Linked DNA regions of Homo sapiens: regions 2 and 3 are each linked to region 1. The links are contacts of gene promoters, found by promoter capture Hi-C in blood cells and fetal thymus (Javierre and others, 2016). All regions are on one chromosome and are shown on one strand. The core of a region is centred on a gene start or on the middle of the fragment in contact, and the rest is flanking DNA. Distances in the headings are between cores, read along the strand shown. Region 1 holds the start of TTLL11 (tubulin tyrosine ligase like 11). Region 2 has its middle 33 kb from the start of OR1J1. Region 3 has its middle 51 kb from the start of OR1J1.

Region 1 (4,883 bases), core at 612-3,111:
CAGACACTTGGAGTCAAACTTCCCCAACGGCTACACCCTATCCACCTGGAAGTCGGTTCTGCCTGATCCTTGACTTCCCTCCAAACCAAATGCACTTTTTCCTATTGGGACATCAACCCTCTGACCACATCAGTCCTTTCTGTGGCCATCTCTCTGTATGTTCCAACTTAATGAAACCATTACCGAGCATCTACCATAGCCAAGGCACAGGGCTAAGAACCTGAGTCCTCTGTTACCCGCAGCAGATCCCTGTTACCACTGGCTGTGTCCACACTCAGCTATCCTTAATCAAACTCCTGACACTCCTGAAAGCACATTAAATACCTTATATGCTGCAAATAAAGTCAAATGGCTTTATCCACGTAGCCAATTGCAACAGACACCTCTAGAGTCACTGGTGCTACATTCCATCCCCTGCCAGTCTAAAATGGGCTCAGGGATGATAACTCATGTATTCATTCACCCTTTCATTCACTGCTTACTGACACATGCCGTAAGCCAAGCCTGGAATATAAAATACAGTGCCTGATTTTATACCACTGATCATGAGGACAGTGGTGGTGCTGGTGGTGGTGATGGTGATGATGGTGGAAGAAGAGAGAAAGGAGAAGGTGGTAACGTAAGTTACCATTTATTGCAGACTTGTGCTATAAAACACTAAGTAGTGAGTCTTCTAATGCTAACAAGATGATGAGATAAGTATAATTGGCCTCACTTTACAGAGAAGGTAATAGGCTGAAGAGGTGAAGCAACTTACTCAAGGTCACACAGCTAAGTAGCAAAGTGTAGTGAGACCCTAGGCCTGTCTGCCTCCAAAATAAAAAGTGTTCCTCTGCCCAAGAGTCACACAGCAAGTGCTAAACAAATATAACTTCAATGAAGAAGTGAGAGAGCGGGTCCGGGGCCCCAGGGGCTTACAAGCTGGTGGAGGAGACAGACGTACACATATCTACAAGCAGAGGCAAATGCTGATGGCTGAGACATAAAAAGAGCTGCAGGGAGGCAGAGGAGTGAGTGGCTAACTTGACCTGGAGGGGTCTGGGGGGCCCTCTTGGAGGAAGTGATTTTGGGGGGTAGGCCTTGAAGGATGAGCACTTTGCGGCTGACAAGCAGGCCCGAGCGTGGTGCACCGCAGGAGCTCAGCCCTCGCCCGCCGACCTGACCTGGGCCGTGCCGAGACCTCTGAGGTCGTCCTGTCCACCCCACTGTGCCCACGCGGCCGGGTCGGGCCGGGCCTCACCTCCTTCCACTTGAGCTGGCGGATGCTGATCTTCAGGGCATCCAGGGAGGTCCTGGCCTTGGAGCTGTCCACGGTGACCGGCCGCTGGGAGCCGTTCTCGCCGGAACCGTGGCCCGAGCTCCGCTTGCAGCTTCGGCCCTTGTCCCGGGGCTTCCCGTGCGGGCAGAGGCCCTGCACCGGCTTCGGCTTGGACGGGGGCAGCGTGGGCGGCGGCCGCTGAAGGACCTGGGTGTTCCCCTCCTCAGCCGCACTGGGCTGCGCCGGGGCCGGGGCCAGGACCTTGGGCTGCTCCTCCCCTGCCTTGCACTCCGGTTCCCCGGCCGCGCCCGCGTCCACGCGGACCTGTTCCGCCACCGTCTCCGCTGTGGCCTCGGCCTCAGCTTTGGCCGCCGCTTTGGCCGCAGCCACCGCCTCCGCCTCCCACCGGGCCGCCAGCTCGCTCTCGGAGCTGCCCCGCCGCATGGTGCTCAGGGCCGGGGCCAGTGCCAGTGCCACCGCCGCCGCCGCCGCCGCTCCGCCGCCCCAGTCCGCCACCAAACTGCCGCCGCTGCAGCCGCTGCCACGCGTTCCCCGCCCGAGCCCGTTGCCATGATCGCTCAGGCTCGGGTTGACAGCGGCAGTCACCGCATCGAGACGGGGTCCGGGAAGGGACAATCGCCGGCCGAGCCCCAGCGACCTCATAGGCGAGGCTGCCCACGTGACCCTGCCTGTCACAGAGGCAGCGGCGGCCATGTTGGAAGAGGGCAAAGAGCCGCCAGGACCCGCCCACCCCGCGGATGCGCTGGATCTCGAGGGCGCAGAACTCGGAGTGGCGAGGAGAAGCGGGAGGGCAGATTGAGCGCGCGTGGGGCTCGTGAGCCTGGGGACTGGGAGTAAAAACAACTACCTCAAGCAGGAGGCTCAGTCCCCGCCAACACTCGCTGGGATAACTCTCGATAGGACGGAGGAGGAGCCCCCCAGTGGGACCCTCCTCAGTGCAATGGATGGGACCCTCCTCAGTGCAATGGATGGGACCCTCCTCAGTGCGATGGATGTGAGCAGCCCAGGCCCTAGGGGAGCAGAGAGTGTTCCGCTGAAGAAACCCTCTGCTGGTCCTTTGAGCGCCCCCAGATAAGAGGGGAGGCACTTTTCCCTGTTCTCAGGGAGCTCCCGATGGGATGGGGAAGTCATGGGCATGGGTAAGCCCCCTATAGATTCCCACTCGAGTTGAGGATATTAACGATTTTTTCTTTTTCTTTTCTTTTTTTCTTTTTTTTTTTTTTTTTTAGACAGGGTCTCTCTCTGTCGCCCAGGCTGGAGTGCAGTGGCGCGATCCCGGCTCACTGCAGCAGCCTCAACTTCCAGAGCTCAAGGGATCCTCCCACCCCAACCTCCCGAGTAGCTGAGACTACACGAATGTACCACCACTCCCGGCTAAGTTTTGTGTTTCTCGTAGAAACGTGGTTTCGCCATGTTGCCGAGGCTGTTCTCAAACTCCTGACCTCAGGTAATCTGCCAGCCTCGGCCTCCCAAAGTACTAGGATTACAAGCAGAACCACCGCGTCTCTTGTTTTCTTTTTTGTTTTTGTTTTTGTTTTGTTGTTGTTGTTGATGTTGTTACAGAGTTTCGCTCTTGTCGCCCAGGCTGGGATGCAATGGTGTGATCTCGGCTCATTGCAGCCTCCGCCTCCCGGCTTCAAGCAATTCTCCTGCCTCAGCCTTGTGAGTAGCTGGGATTGCAGGAGCCGGCCACCATGCCCGGCTAATTTTTTGTATTTTTAGTATAGACGGGGTTTCACCATCTTGGCCAGGCTGGTCTCTAACTCCCGACCTCAGATGATCCACCCGCCTCAGCCTCCCAAAGTGCTGAGATTACAAGCGTGAGCCACCACGTCCAGCCTGACTGCTTTTACTTATATCACTTTTTTTGTTGTGGTAAAATATAACAAAATTTGCCATTTTAACCATTTTTAGTGTACAATTCAGTGGCATTCTGTATACTCACATTGTTGTGCAACCAGCACCACTATGGGTCTCCGGAACTCTTTTATCTTACCAAACTGAAACTTTGTGTCTATGAAACAATAAGTCGGGATTCCCTTCTCTCCTAGTCCCTGGGAACCACCATTTCTACTTTCTGACTATGAATTTGACTATTCCTGGTTCCTCATGTCAGTGGAATCATACAGTATTTGTCTGGCTTATTTCACGTAGCATAATGTCCTCAAGGTTTCTCCATGTTGTAGCATGAGTCCAAATTTCACTCATTTTTAAGACTGAAAAATATTTCGTCGTGTGCATACACCACCTCGTTTTTATCCATTCATCTGTCAATGGACTTAGGTTGTTTCCACCTTTTGGCTATTGTGAAGAATGTCGGTTAACATTGGTATACAAATACCTGTTTGAGCCCCTGCTTTCCATTTTTGGGAGTTGCCATCATTTTAAAGCCAAACCAAGGAGAAAGCTCTCCCCTCCCACCTGAGGGAGCCGCATTTGTTTTTTTAGGAAGTGGGGTTGAGAAGGTGTAACAGCACCCCAGACTGACCACAGCGGCCACGACTGCACACAGGGGAACTTTGCCTCGCTCGACACTACAGGGTGAAAGAAACACAGAAGTTGTCAAGGAACGTGGCCCCTCTTCCTCTCTCATCTCTCCAGGTGTCTTGTTTCTTTGCTTTAGTCCAGGGGTTTCACTTGCTGAATAAACTGCCTTGAAATGTCCAAGTCATAAACTTAAGAGATCCAAACCTCCTTTTTAGCAGCAGAGGGCGCTCGCATCTGTTCCCTTCATGACTTTGTTTCAGAGTTTCTGTAAGCATGGTCGTCTGGCCACTTGCATGGGAACAACCCGGGGTGTTTATTTAAAATGCAGGCTCCTGGACCCCACCCCCAGAGACTGTGATGCAGCACATCTGGGTGGACCTGGGAATCTGCATGTTAAATTAGCTCCTCCGCTGATTCTAAGGCAGCGGAGGCAAGAACCACTCATAGAGTCTGATGCAAGTCCTCTGGAAATTCTTGGAGCTGTCCGTGGTATCAGTAAGAAGGCCTCACTGTCCCCCCATTTCTCTCCACAAACCTACCCCCCAAATCCTGTCCCTCCTCCTGGTGTCCTTGATCTCAGCAAGTGGCACTACCTTCATTCAGTCATCCATGCTTGAAATTTGCCGAGATCGCGCCACTGCACTCCAGCCTGGGCGACAGAGTGAGACTCGGTCTCAAAAAAAAAAAAAAAAAAAAAAAAAAAACATATATATATATATATATATATATATATATATATATATATATATATATAAAAACTGGGCATGATGGCATATGCCTGTAATCCCAGCTACTCGGGAGGCTGAGGCACAAAACTCATGAACCCAGGAGGCAGAGGCTGCAGTGAACTGAGATCGCGCCACTGCACGCCTAGGGCAACAGAGCGAGACTCATTCGAGAGAGAAAAAGAGAGAGAGAGAGAGAGATCTCCTCTTTCCTCTCTTATCTATCTCTATCATCACCACCCCAATTCAGGCTTCTGCTGATAGCTCACCTCCAGCTCTGCCACACACCCACCCATTCTCCACACCAGACCTGCCACTCTCCTGCTTAGAAACCTCCCCTGGTTTGTCACCATCTACAGATAAAGTCCAAGAACATTGATTGTCCTAAGAGG
Region 2 (4,883 bases), core at 1,038-3,537, 350 kb after region 1:
GATGTCCTCTTCCAGGATGCTTCTCCTACTTGTCTGTTGTCCTTTGGATGTCATCTCAGCCATCACTTTTCTGGAATAAGGCACCCTGTTATATGCACTCATAGAATTCTGTTCCCTTCCTCTATAACTCGTATGATGATTTATAATTACTCATTAATTAATATGATTAACATTTGTCATCTCCTTGACCTAATACACAGGGATCTTGTTTCCTTTACCTCACCACTATATTCCTGGAGCTTAGTACTATGTCTGGCACATCGTGGGTGGCCACTAAATATTTGTTGAAAAAATGAAGTCACACCTGGCATTGAAGCTAGGGGCACCTCCTGGCAAAAGCCAGAATAACTGGGTGTAAAGCTGAAAGTAGTGACTATGCAGTGTATTCCTGACTTGCCTATTTGTATAGAACTTGTGTCTAAGATTCCTGATGAGGTGGTTGACTAGTCTGTGTTCTGGTCACAGGTTTATCTGAGCTACAAACATGGACTGGACATGGCCCTTGAGTCCTGATTTTCCACACCCAACCTATGGTCACATCCTGGAGATTCTGCCTCTCCCACGTCTCTCAGTCTGTTCACCTCTCTCCATGTCAGCTCTTCCTGCCCTTATGGAGACCTTTATCATGTCTTGTCTCCAAACCAGGCTCCTTGCAGAGATGACGGCCCCCTTTCAATCCATTCTCTACATTGTAGGCAAATCAGTTTTTATAAAATGCAAGTTTGAATACATCATTGTATTATCTTGATAGGGCTGCAGTAACAAAGTACCACAAACAGAATGGCTTAAACAACAGAAGTGTATTTGTATTGTCTCACAGTTCTGGAGGCTGGAAGTCCGAAATTGAGGTGTTGTCAGGATTGGTTCCTTCTGAGGGCTGTGATGGAAGGATCTGTTCTGAACCTTTCTCTCTGGCTTGTAGATAGCTGTCTTCTCTCTGTGTCTCTTCATATTGCCTTCCTTTATGCACATGTGTTTCTGTTTCTGTATTCAAACTTCTCCTCTTTATAAGGACACCAGTCGTGTTGGATTATGACCCACCCTCATGACCTTATCTTAACTTGATTATCTCTCTAAAGGGCCCATCTCCAAATAATGCCACATTCTGAGGTACTAGGGGTTAGGACTCCAACATATTTTTTTTGGAAGGGGCACAATTCAGCCATAACAGTGATGTTTGTGCTGCACAAGCTTCTCCATGGCCTGCAGACTTAAAGCTAATCTCCTTCCCATGATGGGCTCCTGCTGGGCTCTGCTCCATCTTTTGCCTTTCTCCCTGACTTCTTGCATTCCATGTGCCCATTGTAAAATATTTCTTGCTGCTTCTTGCCTTAGGGACTTACTATTCCATCTGCCTGAAAATGCCCGTTCCCTCTCTCTGTTAGCCCTGGTGATTAGTCCTCACCCTTTGCCTCAGATTAGATATTGCATCCTTTTGGAAGCCTTCCTGATGTTCCTCCACGATAGGCAACCCTCTCACACACACGACCTGGAACTAAATCAGTACTTACAACACTGTCTTCCCCACTAGACTGTGAGCTGCCTGAATACAAGAACTGTGTCTGGTTCCTTGTTACCCCATCCCACCTGGCATGGTGCCTGGGACACAATGGTCCCTTGATAAATATTTTCGAGATGAAATAATGCTTAGATGGACATTTATAATTATGAACAGATGTAAAGAAGAAATGCAACAGACCTCAAGCCACTATCTAAAGAGCAGCATTCCATTTAAGTCACTACAGATGGGACAGAGACCAACCAGAATGGCGGGAACCCCTCTCCTTGAAGGTGCCTCTTGGTCTCTTACAGCTTCAACTTTAAAACAGACTCCTAGGGACTCTGAGTTGGAGAAATTCCTAGAGATCCATTAGGATCATTTTAAAGAAGGGAGAAATTGGAGCATGATGGGAGGAAGAACCTTAATTATCCTGACATTTTTATTGTTAGTCAAGACTGGTACCTGGACTTCTTGGCTTCTCCATGAAAAGAGTAAATGGTTTGCCTGTAATAGAGGTCATGTGCATGGAGGTTAAGAGAATGGGTGCTGGTCCACTTTTTAGGTATATGGTCCTGCCTCTTATCAGGCAAGTGATCTAGGGCAAGTCACCTAACCTCTCTGTGACACGGTTTCTCCATCTGTGAAGTGGGGACAATGGGAGTACCTATCTCAAAGTTGAGAAGATTTGCTGAACAAAAGCATGTTAAAGCACAATGCCCAGCAGGTGGTCAACATCCCCATCCCCAAATGTTAGTATTTATACTATGAGGAAGAGAAAATATTTTAGTAAAGTAACCAGTCATAGCTAAATCTTGGAAGCCTGCCTGGTCTGCACTTAGATTAACCAAACATGTAAAAATCAGAGGTTTAGTCATAGTGACCCCTCATTCCTTTCTGTACACATGGATAGTGCTTGATTTCATTGGGTTCATTTGGACAATAACACATGAATAAGCCTTTCCTGATTCACTGGGGTCTTATCAAAACACTCAGAGTGATTTTTTGCCCATGTTTGACTCATGGACATTTTGGAACCCACCATTCTCCCATGGAGGGCAGTGAGGAAGGCATACATGATAGACGGGGCTATTTAGTCATGGCGCCTCCTGTGTCCAGATGTTTTATTTCCACTGTCCAGAAGCAGAAGCCTTTTCCACACTGTGTCTGCAAATTTATTCAGAAACCACACTTCAGCTGAAGGCTCCAGCCACCTGACATTTCCCACTCATTAACTCCCTAGGGGAGAACAAGGATACAAGAAGAGGGAAGCAGAGTGACAGTGGTCATAGGTTTTCCTGATACTGCTTCAGATCCCTGACTCATTCCCCACCTCTGGTCCCCAGCACCATCCTAACTTCCCATCCTAGCAGACAGAGTGACCCAGAACCACTGAGTGAGGACCTGTGTGGTCTGGAGACCCTGTCCCAACTGTAATGCTTTAACCTTCCTTTGCCAGGCCTCCTTAGGGCCCTTTGTGCTCCAAGGGAACAGGGTAGTCTCTCTCCCAGCTCTTCCCTCAGGGAACTCTGCTCTATGACTTCTCCAATTTGTTTTGTTTTGTTTTGTTTGTTTCTTTTTTTTTTCTCTGAGATAGAGTCTGGCTCTGTCACCCAGGCTGGAGTGCAGTGAAGTGATCTCCGCTCACTGCAACCTCTGCCTCCTGGACTCAAGTGAGCCTCTCACCTCAGCCTCCTGAGTAGCTGTAACTACAGACATGTGCCACCACACTTGGCTAATTTTTGCATTTTTTTTTGGTACAGACAGGGTTTTGCCATGTTGCCTAGGCTGGTCTCAAACTTTTGGGCTCAAATGATCCACCCGCCTTGGTCTCCCAAATTGCTGGGATTACAGGCGTGAGCCATCATGCCTGGTCAACCTTTTCCAAGCTTAGCAAGCAAAGGACAGCCCAAGGAGATGGAGCATGTCATTGCCTCTTCCCTAGTACTGAGAATATTCCCAGAGCTTTCATGGTCATATCTCAGAGGTGTGACTCAGCTTCCCCATTTGTAGGTAACTCAGGTTGAGGAACAGGAGTGAGTATTTTGGAATATGAGGGATGTCTATAAAAGTGAAATGCTATTTTGTCTTTTGGTATGGGATAGCTTAATATTGGGGGACAATAGTTTTCAGGTAATGGAATAGTGTGGCTTGGTTGTGTGTGTGTGCGTGTGTGTGTGTGTGTATTTATGCTAGTCCAGGGACAAGTGATGAAGGTAGATTAGAGTTATGTTGGTTTACAAATTCTATCAGGTTCTTTGGATTCTCGGGATATTGACAATGTCGGGGGCTCTTTAAGTGCTGAATTTTCAGCATGTAGTAAGAATAGTTTTACATGATTTATCTATTGGGGAAACTCTAAGAATTGTTCCAGTTTTAGTTGCAATAGTGGCCCTCCAGCTCCTTCCAGTTACTGGCCTCTGACAGAGCAGGAGTACTGTTATCTTGGACAAACAGCTCCACTTTAAGTTCCAGCTCCCTTTCTAACCTCATGCATTTCAAGGAAATCACTTATCTTCTAACAATAAGCAGCCAGAAAGAGCAGACGGTAAAACACAGATAAGACAGCTTGGGCACAGAGAGAGGGGGAAAGTCTCTTGGGTAACCACCAAACTTCACACTCACAATGGGCCCCAGTAAAACAGTGGGTCCTAATAAGTACATTCCTTTCCCTTTAGGTGCACGAAGATAGGGAAGCTAAAAGCAGACTCAGGGGGTATGCCTGCAGCTGCAGGAAGATGTGTGGGAACAGACACAAAAACCCTCCCTCCCAGATAAGCAAGACAGACAAACATTCCAAGCCCGTGATAAGCTCTTCTGCCTTGAACCCTTAAAACCTCTCAGTCTGTAAGAGAGAATGCCTCTGACCTAACTTGGCCAGAAGCCCCTCTCAGGTTTATTCTCCAAAATAAACCTCTCTTTGACTGTTGAGCCACTTTTTGTGTTTCTTTCTTCTTTCTTTAATTCTTGTAGCCTCTGTTACTGGGCATGGAGTCATCTGTCTTCTATGGAGCACCTCTGTCTTTTGGTCAAAGAGGGAAAATGAAATCCTGGCCCTATGGATACTGGGAAGCATACTCAAGTATCTCTGTACGTATCAAATGAGACAAGGGCTTGTTCAGGAGAGACACTAGACTTTCTGTTAATCTATACTTTGGGATTCCTGGAAGTTGCATTCTGAGATGCTCCAGATTCACATGAAAAAAAAAACAAGCCAAGTGCTTGACTGGCTGGGTTTCTTTCCTCCGCTCCTCCTTCCTTTCCTTATTTGCTCTCTCCTTTCCTTTCTTCCTTCCTTCTCTTTCTTTTCTTTTTCTGTCTCATCCTGTTCTAAAAACAATAGGGTTGTTTAGAAGGATACATACAACAGACAAGATAAAATAAA
Region 3 (4,883 bases), core at 850-3,349, 330 kb after region 1:
ATAGTAATTAGCCATGCAGAGAAGATCTCTGTGGTTTAATTAAGTGGCATATGTGGTTAAAAGTTTGTCTTCTTCTAAGGGAGCAGTAATTAAAAATTAAGCGTAGTCTCTCCATGGATCAGTATCTTCATTGGAAACACGGCCTTTGGCTGTCACCAATTCAGAATACTGGAGAAACAGGCACTTCTCTCTCAGGCTCGTCTGCCCCCCTTCCAAGTCCAAAAAGTAGGACCTACCTGGGTCTGATTGGGAATGACACCTAGAATTGAGGGACCAAGTTGGGGGAGATGGGTCTTGCATGGCCATAGTCAACCTCAGTGATATCCTCTGTGTTGAAGGAGGCATAACATTATAGAATGAGATTGGTGAGAGCACTGAGGTAGTAGTGCACCTGATGTATTTAAGGAATAACAGACCAGTATGGCTGGACTGGGCTGAATGAATAAAGAGGGGCAGGAGCTGAGGTCAGAATGGCCACAGGACCAGTTCACATAGTCTTGTAGTCAGATTATTGCAAAGATTTTGGCTTTAATGTGAGCCAACTTTATCAATATTTTGTTTTTGCTACATTTTGATCTTATTTAGAAAATCTTTCCATAGCCTAAGTTCTAAAATATAACTTTTATTTTCTACAAAGTGTTTTTTCTAAAATTAAGTTTTCTAAAGCATAATTTATGAACAATAGCATTTATTCATAGGAAGTATTCCATTTGATGAGTTTTGACAACAGTATGCCGTTATGTAACAACTACAATGAAGATACACAATATTCTTATTGCCACAAAAGTTCTCTCCTACCCATTGGTAGTCACTATCCTTCTGCCACTCCTAGCCCCAGGCAAACGGTGATCTGATTTCCTGCTTCCTTTTCCTGAATGTCATACAATTAGAATGATATAAGATGTAGCCTTTTTTTGGTCCAGCTTCTTTGATTTTGCATACTTTTTTTGAGATTCTTCCAAGTTGTTGCACATATAAGTAATTCGTTCATTTTTATTGCTGCATATGGATGTACCACAATTTGGTTATCCATTCATCATTGGTGGACTGTCTCCACTGTTTGGCTACTGTGAATAAAGCTGCTCTAAACATTGGCATACAGTTCTTTGTGTGAACATATGGTTCCTTGTCTTTTGGGTAAATACCTAGGGATAGGATTGCTGGGTTGTATGGTAGGTATGTGTTAAACTTTTAAAGAAACTGCTAAACTGTTTTCAAAAAGGGCTGCTCCATTTTGCAATGGATACAATTTCCAGGTGCTTCTCTCACCAGAGCTTGGTATTAGCCATTTTAGTGATGTGTAGTGGTATTTCATTGTGGTTTTGATTTGCATTTCCCTAATGACCAGTGGTGTCAAGCATCTTTTCATGTGCTTATTTGCCATCTGTATATCTTCTTTGATTAAGTGTCTGTTCAGATCCTTTGCCCACTATTTGAGCTATTTGTCTTATAATTGATTGTGAGAGTTCTTTTTTCTAGATAAAGTCTTTATTAGGTATGTGTTTTGCAAACATTTTCTCCCAGCCTGTGGCTTGTCTTTACATTCTCTTAACAGTATCTTTCAAACAGCAGAAGTTTAAAATTTTGATGATGCTGAATTTAGCAGTTTTTTTCTATTATGGTTTTTGCTTTTTGTTTCTTATGTGAAAATTATTTGCCTAATCCAAGGTTACAAAGCTTTTCTTTTGTTTTCTTCTATAAGTTTTACAGTTTTAGCTCTTACATTTAAGTCCATGATCCATTTTGAATTAATTTATATATATGGTGTGAGTTAAGGATTGATTTTTTTATATGGATATCCAATTGTTCCAGCATCAGTTGTTGAAAAACTGTCCTTTCTCTATTGCATTGGAATTTTTGTCAAAAATCAATTGACCATATAACTGTAGATCTATTTCTGAACTCTTGTTTGATTGAGCTTTAAAACCAAAAGTACACTGTCTTGATTATTATAGCTTAGTAAGTCTTGAATTGCATGGTGTGGGTCTTCTTTCCTCCCCCAAAGTTATTTAGGTTCTTCTAGGTTTTTTGCCATTTCCATATAAATTTTATTTTAAAATTTTCAACTTACAAAAGAGCCCAATAGAATTTTGATTGAGATTTCATTGAACCAGTAGGTCAGGAATTGCCAAAAAAACACTTTCACAGAAACACATAGAATAATGTTTGACCAAACACCTTGTTACCATGGCTCAGCCAATTTGATACATCAAATCAACTATATAGTCTCTCTCCTGATGAATATCACCGTCTTTACCTTCAGTCTCTATTAATGGACTACATTTTTACCAATATTCATAACAAAAAATTAGAATTTTACAGTTTATCTGTAATTAGAAATATGTCTTCATACTTATAAAAGAAAGAATGTTTATGGTCAGGGCATGAGATCCTTTATGAAGATGCAGATTTAAAAAAATCTATACTTTTGCTATCCAGAGGTAACCACTGTTTCTACATTTTGGTAGATTTCCTCAAATTTATTTATATTTATGCCAAGTCTTATTCCTGAAGAATTTAAGGAAGCTTGGAAATACGTATAAAATACAAGATAAGATAAATGGAAAATGAGGTTAGAAAAAGAACAAAAGGGGGGATAAACAAGGGTGGAGACATAAAATTGAGCCAGGAATGACTCTGAAAATGCAGATTATGATGACTGTTGTTATGGGTGGGCCTCAGATTTGGCTCAGGCTTTCTGGTCAGTCACACAGTTCACTGGGACCAAAAGTAAAAATAAACCACTTGATTAGGTGAAATTATATCATCTGCGGTTCTAAGAACAGACACATTGCATGGGGTTTCTTTTAATCCGTCTTAATGTAGGCTTTGGCAATCAAATTGGGGTGTAAAAATTCACAGTAAACAATAGCTCAGAGGCAAAAAGAATGCTGTCTAGGTGCTCAGATTTCCAGTGGTTTGGGTGGACAACATATTGGATTTTAGTCTTGCAGGTAGGTATGGATGACCTGCATGTCCTTTGAGCAAGCTTCCCTAAATATATTTTCTTTTAGTTAAACTTTTGGTAAACACTGAGTATCAGTGACCACCAACTAATAGTCCCTCGTTGATACCTAAGCTGCGGCTGGTGTCTATTATCAATCAAGTAGAGGTGAATCCTATTTAGAGTTGGCAATCAAACAACACACTAGTATTTAGTGCAGGGCTTTCAGTCAGACAGATGTTTCAGATTCTAACTCCATAACTCAACTAACTGTGCAGTAATAAACAAGTTAAAAATTTCACCAAGTCTCCAGGTTCTCATCTATAAAATGTGAATAACATCAGTATCTGTCTTGTAGGGTTGTCGTTGGGATTAAATATGTTTACACAAGTAAAGTATGTAACACAATAACAAGAGTATAGTAAGTGTTCAATAAATGATATTATTATTATCTTTATAAAGCTGAGGAGACTAATGAGGACTTGTGCCTAGAAATAAGGCCATCAGACATCTGCTTCCAGGTGAGCTGAGACAGCACCCACCGAACGTGTTCCAGGACCCAAATAAAATCTTAACCTTAAACTACGTAACTTTTGAATGAACTCCCAGATTCCAGTGTATTCTACACCAAGGCATCTCAAGTGTTAGTCTGTGGATCAGTGTTTGTCCATAATGAAGTTTTCATGCATGAACTGAAAAAAAAAAAAAAAAACAACCCTGCAGAATTGGCTCTGTTCCCAGTACTCTTCTCTATCTTTAGGTTAATTTATATTTCTTGTAGAAAGCATTTAGTTGGAACTTTTTAAAACCATGGTGATAATCTTTGTTTTTTAAGCCTCTGGGAAGGAGGTAGTTAGAATATCTGCGTTTGATGTAATTGGTGATAGTTTTGAGTTTAAACCTACTTTTTAATTTTGGCCTTTCTTTTCTTTTCTTTTTTTCTTTCTTTCTTTCTTTTTTTCTTTCTTTCTTTCTTCTTTCTTTCTTCTTTATTCCTTCCTTCCTTCCCCCTTCCTTCCTTCCTTCCTTCCTTCCTTCTCTCTCTCTCTCTCTCTCTTTCTTTCCTTTCTTTCTTTCTTCAGAACCTCACTCTGTCGCCCAGGCTGGAGTGCAGTGGTGCAATCTCTGCTCGCTGCAGCCTCTGTCTCCCGGGTTCGAGTGATTCTCCTGCCTCAGCCTCGCGAGTAGTTGGAATTAAAGGTGCGCACCACTACACCCAGCTAATTTTTGTATTTTTAGTAGAGATGGGCTTTCACAATGTTGGCCAGTCTGATCTCAAACTGCTGACCTCAGGTGATCTGCCTGCCTTGGCCTCCCGAAGTGCTAGGATTATAGACGTGAGCCACCGCACTCAGCCTTGGCCTTTGTTTTCTATTTGTTGTGTATGCTTTTCGTTCATCTGTTTTTCCTTTCTTGCCTCCCTTTGGGTGGATTGATTATTATTTTTTAAAGTATTCTCTTTTATCTCCTCTTTATCTCTTTTTAGTTATGCCTCTGTGTTTGTGATTACTCTAGAGATTATAATCTTCACTTTCAACTATCACAGTCTACCTTCAAAAGATGTTCTACCAAATTACAAATAATGTAAGCACCTCATAACAGTACACTTGTGATTCCTCTTCCCAGCCTTTGTACTCTTAATATCATGTTTTATTTCTACAGATGTCATAAACCACATGATCCATTGTTATCATTTCTTACTTTCAATAGTCAACAGTTGTCTAAAGAGATTTAAAGATGTTATATATGATTATAAACATATTTACAATTCATTTCTATATAATTACAAATGTAATTTTTTAAAAAAGGTCCTTTATATTTACCTACATTTTATTTTATCTAGTGCCTTTCTTTCCTTCCTGTAGATTCATATTTCTACCTGATGTCATTTCCCTTTAGCCTAATACACTTCTTTTAGCATTTCCTGTAGTGTGGGTCT

What was found. Contacts are between HindIII fragments. The CHiCAGO score rates a contact against its expected background, and 5 or more counts as called.
Region 2: a contact is called between a fragment that was not itself captured here and the fragment with the promoter of TTLL11 in region 1, in 2 of 17 cell types (endothelial precursors and M1 macrophages). The highest score is 9.0, in endothelial precursors.
Region 3: a fragment that was not itself captured here is called in contact with the fragment with the promoter of TTLL11 in region 1 in 1 of 17 cell types (endothelial precursors); the score reaches 6.5 in endothelial precursors.

What each region holds. Positions count from the first base shown.
Region 1 is chr9:122,091,447-122,096,329 of GRCh38, forward strand. It overlaps TTLL11 (tubulin tyrosine ligase like 11), which reads right to left and starts at 1,862. Exons shown (of 9, transcript NM_001139442.2): 1 at 1,241-1,862. The coding sequence starts at 1,702. LOC124902263 (a long non-coding RNA gene) reads left to right here and starts at 2,686. Exons shown (of 2, transcript XR_007061757.1): 1 at 2,686-2,726; 2 at 3,728-3,954. RefSeq lists enhancers at 1,390-2,103, 1,853-2,042 and a silencer at 1,453-1,502. The HindIII fragment of the contact is 9,416 bases long and covers 1-4,883 here.
Region 2 is chr9:122,442,958-122,447,840 of GRCh38, forward strand. It overlaps a transcript of OR1J2 not described here. Among named protein-coding and RNA genes, the nearest start is that of OR1J1, 33 kb to the right of the region's middle. The HindIII fragment of the contact is 2,196 bases long and covers 1,190-3,385 here.
Region 3 is chr9:122,424,245-122,429,127 of GRCh38, forward strand. No RefSeq gene overlaps it. Among named protein-coding and RNA genes, the nearest start is that of OR1J1, 51 kb to the right of the region's middle. The HindIII fragment of the contact is 849 bases long and covers 1,676-2,524 here.